2 separate regions of the Homo sapiens genome follow, and region 1 is linked to region 2. The links are contacts of gene promoters, found by promoter capture Hi-C in blood cells and fetal thymus (Javierre and others, 2016). All regions are on one chromosome and are shown on one strand. The core of a region is centred on a gene start or on the middle of the fragment in contact, and the rest is flanking DNA. Distances in the headings are between cores, read along the strand shown.

Region 1 (5,501 bases), core at 87-2,586, 1.2 Mb after region 2:
CTATTGCTGTTTATTTGGAATGAGGACCTAGGTTGCTGACTCATTCGCTATGGTATCTATACTTCATTCTGAATATATAACATTCGTACTTGTAAATAGATCTCTACTCCAAATGGCAGTTCAATCTTAGGGACTGGATCCAGAACAGCACCTAGACCTAAGCTTATTTATTTGAACATTTCCTATCATGAGCCATATGTCAGAAATTTTAGTTTAGGAAGCTGTGGTAGCTGAATGCTTTCCTGTAGCCCAGGACTATTATTCTCTAGAACTTGGCTGAGCATGAGAAGAAAAATAGAACAAGCAGATGGGCTTTGCCTTCGGGTATGGCAGCACACTTCATTCTTTAGAGTATAAGCTTGCTGCTCATGACACTACGGCAGAGCAGAGCCTAAGAGGCCACATAGAGATGAAAATTGCTGCCTTGGCCTCATTATTCAAAGTCTCACTACCCAGAATACAAGCTTAGAAAGGATTCTTCACTATTTTATTCCTATTCTTGCCTGTCAGGAGATATTGTTGAGCCTGTACACCATGTGAAACATCATTTAAAGTTCTATGGAGGATATATGAAAATATTTGGAAAACAGAACCACTCTCAACCCCCACAAAAAAAAACTGAAAAAAGAAATAAAATGTTTATTTTTTCTATGCAAAGCAAATATGAAGTCTCCCCTCTCATTCAACAGTATTTCTGCCTCAAAAAATAAATAAAACATAATCAAAACACTTTAAATTCACTCTAACATGTAACAAAACTGTCACTGGAGATCTCCTGATTTGAGAAATCATAGGGTCTGCAAAACCACAGACTAAATATAATGCTAGACATTTATGTAAAATATTTCAGCAACAATATGAGTTGTATTATTAGGATGAACAATGATGGCCTTATGGTTAAATAAGCATATCTGAATACCTTATTTCTCAAACACACTGAAAATATGGGTTCTGCAAATGGTATCCCTCTTTCTCCCTAAACCTAGAGCAGTGCCCAAGAGAACAGAATACAGGGCCAAGTTTTATGTATTTAAATTCTGTTCTCCCACTTAAAGGTTCTGTTACTATAAAAAAAAAAAACGCAGTACTTGTTCTATGCTTCAGTTACCTTCTATATCATAACAAGATAATGATTGCATCTATTCAAGGAGTTACCAAGAAAATAAAACAAATTTATATAAGAAAACATGAAGGCTAGTGTCTGCCAAATATTAAGTACTTAATGAGTTATTATTATCATAACTCTCTCTATATTAATCAATAAATATTCATTTAAACATGAAGCCATACCAGAGGTTATGTAGTGGGTTAATAACTGTATCGCTTTCCTATCCATAAGGGAGTCCTTGAGAAACAGCAGTTTGAGGGAGTGAAGAGTAGAAGAAGATACTAAAATTAGAGAGAAAGGCTAATATTTAATTAACACTTAAAATGTGTCAGAACTTCTGCATGCATTATCTGATTTTGCCCTCAAACCAACTCTTGTAACTAGCCCAGGTCTGCACAACCAGGAATGGCAGAACAGAAATTAGAACAAGTTCTTCTCTTATCAATGAATATGATGCTCTTGAGGAAAAGCAAGAGGAGACAGAAAGAAATCCGGTATTTTAAACATAGGATTATATAGCCAAAACTAATTTACCAAGTTTATTATACAATTGCTCAAAGTTTCGCTTTGCCCATATAGGCATTATCTACCCTTTTAATTCTCCCCATTGTTGATAAAACCATAAGTTGAATCAAAAAGAACCTCACTGTTTGAATATTATTTAGTACGTCAATGTTTTATTTTGTATATTGGTAAATTATTTGGTTATTTTCTGTTTCTAATAGTTTTTAAATAATTTTGAATTATAGAATGTGGTCTATTAATATAGAATTTTTAAAATACATTTTGTGTATTGACCTTTTAAAACAAGAGGAGGCTTCCTTAAAGTGTCTTTTCACTGTTGTTAAATATACCAGCACATAAAATGTTAATGGAAATACTGCCTTTTAATGTTAGGTAGTGACCTTTATTATAAATGAATTTATCTCTAGAGTATATTTTTCAAAGTTAAAAGAAACCAATTAAAATGTTCTAACACTGAAGAAGCAATAAACCTCAAAAAATATCTGAATATGGAATATAGTTCTTAATTTACTGTCTCTTCACATGCAACATACCCAGAAGGTGTGCTATTGACTTACTATTGTGTTTCTTGATAAGAAGCTTATAAAGTGTCTGCTTAACTTTTCCTTTTCAAATTAACAAGATAATACGAGCATGTAGGTAAGCCATTGGCAAGGGCTAGAGGATAGCCATTTAAAAACAGAAAATATATATTATTGTGTTTTTATCACAATTTTCCTGGCTCAGAAATGAAAAAAAAAAAAAAAACCTTAGACTTGGCCCAGTATGTAAATGATGCAGGAAGCCATGTCCCCTGTCTATCTCTCCAACCACATCTGCTTCTGTTCTCTAATATGCATATATTCTTACAGTACCATCTTCAGGGATTTCTTTGACTTTTATATGCCAGCTTCTTGCTTAGGATGTTTTTTCTTTCTCTCTTACACAATTGATAAATGCCTATTCATTCTTTAATATCATTTATTCATTCAAAAATTTATTGAGCACTATGTGATAGGAACTATTTTTAAGTTCTGGTAACACAGCAGCAAACAATATAGACAAAAGTCCTTTCTTTCATGGAGTTTATATTTCAGTATGAGAAAACAATATACAAGTAAATGTATATATATTTATACATATATAAACATATTCTTATATATTATATATTTGTACATATATAAACATATTCTTATATATTATATATTTGTACATATATAAATATATTCTTATGTATTATATATTTGTACATATATAAATATATTCTTATGTATTATACATTTGTACATATATAAATATATTCTTATGTATTATACATTTGTACATATATAAATATATTCTTATGTATTATACATTTGTACATATATAAATATATTCTTATGTATTATACATTTGTACATATATAAATATATTCTTATGTATTATACATTTGTACATATATAAATATAATATATTTTTATGTATTATATATTTGTACATATATGAATATATTTTTATGTATTATATATTTGTACATATATGAATATATTTTTATGTATTATATATTTATACATATATAAATATATATTATATATTATATATACATGTATAAATTTTATATTTTTTATATATATATATATATATAAAGGAAAAAGATGCAAATCACATATATCACATATAGCCTGGTCGTTTATTGTAGGGACTTTTCCATTTGCTCTGGAAAAGCAGTGAACCAATGTGACGGTTTGGTAAAGAGAGGTTTCATGAACTTATTTATGTTTTAATTGTATTTTTCTGGCTGCTGAATGGAAAACAGACATTACGGGGACAAGTGCAGGTGTATCAATAATCCAGGTGAAAGATGATGTTGGCTCAGTGTAGAAAAAGTGGGTAGTAGGAAAATGGTAAGACATGGTCAGAAATTGAAGGTAGAAGCAAGAAAATGTACTAGCTGATTGGAAATAAAGTATGAGAGCAAGAGATAAATGAAAGACGACTGGAAAGATTTGGAAGAGACTCATCATATGGCATTCAGTTTTATCTTACTGTGCTCCCATGCCAAGTCACCCTCCTCTATACAAGCTAGAGTCTTGTACTCATCTCTAATACCAACCATAAGTATCTTCTTTTAACACGGACTGTACAAAGTTTTATTTACACTATCTCATTTATTATTATACTGATACTGAAGGGAATACAATATTTTTACAATACAATATAGATATAATATGACATTTTATACATGAGCTCATACTCATCAAATCAAAATGCCATAAATTGCTTATGCATTTGTCATTCCCAAAGTGATGTAACACATTTGAGGACAAGGACAATGATGTACTAATTTCTGTATGCCTAGCACCTGGAGAAATCTTTACTCAAAATTGCTGCCCATTACTGTGCTTTGAATGAAGGGAAGAAATGAATCATTGTTAAAGTTTTCTATAACAGTACAATTGGAAGGAGGGCAAAATTCCTTACTGCATCATCAAGTATTTGTCCTTATGTGATCTACGAATCTGCTTAAATTTCTTTCCATCAGCATTTTATGTTTATAATGCAATATAAAATGTAAATATAAACTCCAGATTATCAAACTATAGAATTCTTGGTCCTGTATCTTTTTGCCATTTTTTAATCAACTTATAGATACCAAGGATTTCCAATGTTTTATTTACCCATCTTCCCTCATCAATTGAATTGCTCTTTCAGCAGCTATGCAAGATTCATATACTAAAGATGACTGATGTAATATTTACAAAGGTCTTTAGAATTATCGAGTTCCTCAGAAGAATTTATGTATGGCAAAGAGTTTAAAATGTCAGGAGTTCATACATGAAGCCATTGTGAGCTCCCTTGAGCTCTCCATAACGCTAACAAAGATAGGAACTCTGTCCTCTATGCTACCAGATGATCTCCTGCCTAGTGGTATTATTGAATTTATAATACTGCATTGTAAATGATTGCTTGCATGCTATATTTCCCCACTTCTGGAAGAGATTTTAACTCTTTGTCATTGTATCTCAATACTAACATCATTCTTAGTATAACATACGTACTTAGACAATGTTGAATACGTGCAAAAGATTGCTATGCAAATCATTTAAGCACTCAACTTCATTTTTGATGGTGCTAAATGATGCTATTCTAGCACAGTTGCTAAAGGTCTGCTTTGTTCAATTGTCTCTTGCGCTGCAAATTCCTAGTCTTAAACCATAACTTTTGATCTTGCCAATTCAAATCAATTCAGCAAACATACTAACCATCACTTATTTCAGAAAATGCAATGATGAAAAAGATGACCTTAAATAGCTTGCAATCTAAGAGCAGAAATAAACACAAATAGTATTGTAATGCATTCAGAATGTGAGAAGTGTTATACGATGTTTATTGCAAAATATCATATCAACGTAAAAGATAAAAATTATTTCTTCTCAAAAGCTAGTTGACGGAATTATGTAAGAGAAGAGAAAAGGAAATATTTCAAATATATAAACAGTATTTGATCAAAAAATTATCATAGAGGTCTAGTTCAGATGAAGTACAGAAATATAAGTGGCTTCAAGAAAAAATGTGTGTGCATGAGTGCGTGTGTGTGTGTGAATGTTAAAATCAGTAAAACAGGCCATGGGCAACCTTGTGTATATTACAGACATTGACAATCAAAGTGACAATAGTGGTAGTAGTAGTAGTGAGGACATAAGGTAGCATAAACAAGTTTGAAATATCATGGAAATTAAACACAAAGACATAATGTCAGCACATAGCCTGTTGCTTTGCAAGTAAATGTAGTAATCATGGAAGAATAGAGAGAAAAGATAAGAAGTCTTAGGATAGAACTTTGTATAAGATACATTTAGGGGACAAAATACTATTTATATTTTGGAAATTTATGTTTATAACTATTGGT
Region 2 (4,808 bases), core at 960-3,459:
AAGGTCTATGGTAAGAACGGATCTTCTATCAGTGCAGTTGTAAAGAAGTAAAAAATTCATGGCAGTTTTGATGTCACACCTCAAACTGCAAGTTACAGCCACAAGGTATAAGTGCTTAGTTAAGCCAGAAAAGGTATTAAATTTGTGGAGACAAGAACAGAAAAAGTGTTCCAACTGACAGCAATGTGTTATGCCAAAAAGCACTGGGCCTATGAGAAGATTCAGCAAGGGATTCCTTGAAATGAGCATTTTGTTATTAAAGTGATTGTTCTTTTATTATTGTTGTTAATCTCTTACTCTGCCTAATTTATAAATTAAACTTTATCATAGGCAAGTATGTATAGGAAAATAGCATGTATAGGGTTCAGTACTATCCGAGGTTTTAGGCATCCACCGAGGGTCTTGGAACGTGTCCACCACGGATAAGGGGGAACGATTATGATATCAGCTCACCTAGAGTGAGGAAGCTACAGCAAACATCAGTTTGTTCAGTTATAACAAAGAAGAGTAAGAGACAGGAATTAAACATTATAACATTATAACCTACCCAATGTTTACAATCTATTATTCCTTGCTTCCTAATAGTATTAGCAAGGAACACTTTAAAACAAAAAAAAAAGTCCTGTGCGCTTAACTCAGGAAGGAGTTAAGGGTAGCGAGCTAGGGAGACTGCAGCCAACCTGAGAGGAGGGTGAAGCTTTAAGATAAAAGAAAGTTGAGTTCCTGAAGCCTAAACCAGAAAAGGTTAGGCAGCACTGGCCTAGCCCTAAGGAAGAGCATTGGTGGAATAAATCAGCAAGCTGTATTTGGTTTATCAACTAAGAAAGCAAGTCCTTTCATCTCAGGTCCAGCACTTAAACTGTCATACCCAAACCATCTACTACAGCATTTACTACTGAAGGAGCTCCAATAGAACACAAGAGAATGTTTTCTTGGGTAGTGAGAGGAGGTAGGAGGTGCATTCTGAAATATTACCCAAATAAAAGTTTCTGGAAGACACCCTTTCCCTTCAATTTCTAGTTGACCTTGGTAAAAACTGTCGCGAACTATGAATAGAAACATGCACGGAGGAAGTAAGTGCACAATAAACATTTCATTTCAACACAGATGAAGCACCTAGTCATGCCACATTTATGGAGCGCCTACTGTGTGCTAAGTAGGCAAAGTGCTATATTGACCCCAGGGATACGCAGAAAAAAACACGGCGGGGCCTCAAAGAGCTGTCAAACACTTAACAGCCTGTGATTAGCCCTTCAGGAGGGGTCTCTAGCTTGGTCTGGAAAGTTAAACTTGAGATTCCTAGAATCTTGCAAAACTGATAGAAGCTCCCAGATCAAGTAGATAGCGAGACAGACTCTCCGGCCAAGTGCGCAGTGGCAGGCGCGGAAGTGCGAGCCGGCAGGACCGCCAGGCACCAGCCGCGCGGGCGTGGGCAGCACAGCCGCAGTTCCCTTCCACTGCAGGTCCCGAAGCCGCTGATATTCCAAACGAGGAAGTGTAAGGAAAGCACTATCCTCGGTCTAGCCGCAGGCGGCATCACCATCAGTCAGCCTCTATCCTAAAAGCTCTGGCCATTCAGCGGGAATCATCGCCTTCACTTCCTGCAGTAGGGTGGCTAAGTTTAGCAAACAAGAATGCAGGACGCCCGGTCAAATTAGAATTGTAACCAAACACCAGAAAACTGTTCCGTTTTTCCTATGTCCACTGCAGTATTTGGGACACACTTGGACTAAGAATCATTCGCTCTTTCAGAGAAATTCCAATTGATTGCGGCGTCTTGTATTTTATGTAGCAATTCACAGAGGGATGGCCTAAGTGAACATGAGTGAAGTATTTTCAACGCGAGAGTCACAGGCTCCTGAAGTCAGCACAGCCGCGGAGGGCACCCTTCCCTGCCCATCCCTCGAGCGCCTCTGCGTGTTATGACTCAGAGCCCACGCGCTAGTACGCCTCGCCCACCCGGCGCCGGGGCAAAGGGGCACCTCCGCCCACCGCTTTCTCCAGACCCCCGCAAGGCCTGCGCACCACGCCGCGGCACTCCTGCCCGCTGACCCCGTACCCAGAGGCCGCAGCTGCCGCAGCTCCCGCAGCTCCCGCCGCCCTGTCAAGCCAGCCTGCCGAGCCGCTCCTGCTCCAAACCAGCCGCGTCCCCGCCAGCGCCGCGCGGCGCCAAATCATGGTCAGAGCCCGGATCTGCAGCGAGCTCTACTGCCGGACACCGCGGATCCCGGGAGCCCGCCTCCTCCGGCCCGGCCCCCGCCTTGCCCCGCCCCGTCCCGCCCCTCCGGACTGCCCGCGCCGCCGCCGGTCACCTCCTCGCAGCTGAGCGCGTCCTCCCAGGGCTGCCCGAGCGCTGGATTCCAGCGAGTGCCACCCACGTGTAAACATCCTTTAGAGGGGAGAAGCGGCTCACTTGCTTATCTCGAGGGTTCATCCGAGCCCCGCCTCTGGATTCTTTTAGGTTTAGGGACGCTCATAAAGGCTCCCAGGCACTTGGAAGCAGTGCATGAGGATGGTGGCAGACATGCTGGGGAAACGGAGGAGAAAAAACATGACCATCCAAAACAGAATCAAAGTGGTGCCTCAGATGTTTCCAACTACCTGTTACACAAGTTTTTGTGTGGATGAAATAAGAGCCTAAATATATCCTCTTATAATTAGGCAATTGGTCGAGACCCAATGTAAATTATGGGGATATTGGGGTTTACATCCATAATTAAAAGAAAAAATCCGGTGTTGAAGGTTTACTCCAAAGAAGACAAAGATTATTTCCCACCACCTGCCAAAAAAAAAAAATTAGGAAACAAAACAAAAGAAATTAGCACAGAGATGTTTCACCATGGCTTTGGAAATGGGCGATTGCTGTTGACAGGATTATTTAAGCCACTCAGTGGTGGTAATAATAGCCTTTGTGCGTCACTATTTAAGGTTGGGGGTAAGCCTTTATTTACTGAGGACACTGAAATTCATCTTAAAGTCAAAGGTCAAATGGTACATCTAAAATTCTAAACAATTATTACAACAATCCAGAGCTTTTTTGATTCTTCATGTTCAACTAAGTGTAAAATTCATGTTACCAAAGTACAAAATAAGAACTTGTATTTCTGACAGTTCTTTTCCAACATTCAAATGGGCTATGTTTGATTACTTAATAAAAGGATGGAAGTTAGTTGCAAAAATAAATACCCCCAAAGGGTAGGAATTCATTCTTTTTAAAGACAAATTTGACTTTGAAAATTAAGGCATGTGGCCAGGCGCGATGGCCTGTCCTGTAATGTGGCCATTACAGGACTGCCCGCTGACCCCGTACCCAGAGGCCGCAGCTGCCGCAGCTCCCGCAGTGGCCAGTCCTGTAATCCCAGCACTTTAGGAAGCCGAGGCGGGCGGGTCACCTGAGGTTGGGGGTTCAAGACCAGCCCCTCCAATATTGGTGAAACGCCGTCTCTACTAAAAATACAAAATTAGCCGGGCGTGGTGGCGCATGCCCGTAATCCCAGCTACTCGGGAGGCTGAGGCAGGAGAATCGCTTGAATCCATGAGGCAGAGTTTGCAGTGAGCCAAGATCACACGATTGCACTCCAGCCTGGGCAACAAGAGCAAAACTCCGTCTCATAAAAAAATAAATAAATAAAATAAAATAAAAATTAAGGTATGTTATCTATCTATAGTGTTGTGGGCTTTTTAATTTTTTTATAAAACTATTTTGGAAATTTATGGTGTTATGTTAGTTTTGAAGTCAAATTTTACCTCATCTCAAATTGTTTTATGAAATAAAGATCATTATGAGGTGAACCGATCATGTTACAATTTAATTTTAATACAGCATAGATGGACTATTATCAAGCACAGAATTCACTGGACAGATTTTTTTAAGGATTTCAGAATGTAAAGTACTTCAGAAGAAAGTGTTATGCCTGAATTCAGCATAATATATTAATAAATATATTGATAATTTTCAACTTCTTTGTGCTTCGTGGGGTAGCTACAGAAGTGATTATTATTTTTGGTCATAGTTGTGATGACTGCAATAGCAAGTTAAGAAATATGTCAGCAGACAGTAGAACGGTGGTTGCCAGGGCCTGGGAGAAGGTGGAAATGGGGAGATGTTGGTCAAAGGGTACAGAGTTTCAATTATGCGAGATAGGTAAGTTCTAGAGAGCTAAAGTACAGCAATGTGACTATAGTTAGGAAAATCGCAATGTATGCTTGAAATTTGCTAAGAGGGTAGATCTTGTGTTCTCACACTTGCACACAAGAAAGAAAATGGGGCCAGGTGCGGTGGCTCACGCCTGTAATCCCAGCACTTTGGGAAGCTGAGATGGGTGGATCAACTGAGGTCAGGAGTTCAAGACCAGCCTGGCCAATATGATGAAACCCCATCTCAACTGAAAATACAAAAATTAGCCGAGCATGGTAGCACGCGCCTGTAATCCCAGCTACTCGGGAGGCTGAGGCAGGAGAATCGCTTGAACCTGGGAGGCAGAGGTTGCAGTGAGTTGAGATTGCGTCACTGCACTCCAACTTGAGCGACAGAGTAAGACTGTCTGGAAAAAAAAAGAAAGAAAGAAAAAGAGAGAAGAAAATAAAGGGAATAGAAAAAAATGGTAAATATGAAAGGTGGTGGCTATGTTAATTAGCTTGATTGTGATAGTTATTATACAGTGTATCAGGCTTTGGAATGAATGTTTGTCCCCTCTGACACTTATGTTGAAACTGTCCAATGTGGCAGTGCTGACAGGTGGGGCCTTTGAGAGATGATTGGGCATGAGAGCTGGAACATGAATGAATGGATTAATGGGTGATCATGG

The links. The method cuts DNA at HindIII sites, captures the fragments that hold promoters and counts their contacts. A CHiCAGO score of 5 or more calls a contact.
Region 1: a contact is called between a fragment that was not itself captured here and the fragment with the promoter of GLRX2 in region 2, in 4 of 17 cell types (total CD4 T cells, total CD8 T cells, naive CD8 T cells and 1 more). The highest score is 7.0, in total CD4 T cells.

The regions. Positions count from the first base shown.
Region 1 is chr1:194,300,766-194,306,266 of GRCh38, forward strand. The region is part of intron 2 of LOC107985242 (a long non-coding RNA gene); the gene reads right to left. Among named protein-coding and RNA genes, the nearest start is that of LINC01031, 1.0 Mb to the left of the region's middle. The HindIII fragment of the contact is 1,748 bases long and covers 463-2,210 here.
Region 2 is chr1:193,103,205-193,108,012 of GRCh38, forward strand. It overlaps GLRX2 (glutaredoxin 2), which reads right to left and starts at 2,210. Exons shown (of 4, transcript NM_197962.3): 1 at 2,060-2,210. The coding sequence starts at 2,178. RefSeq lists silencers at 1,999-2,098, 2,075-2,369, 2,149-2,388. The HindIII fragment of the contact is 5,966 bases long and covers 696-4,808 here.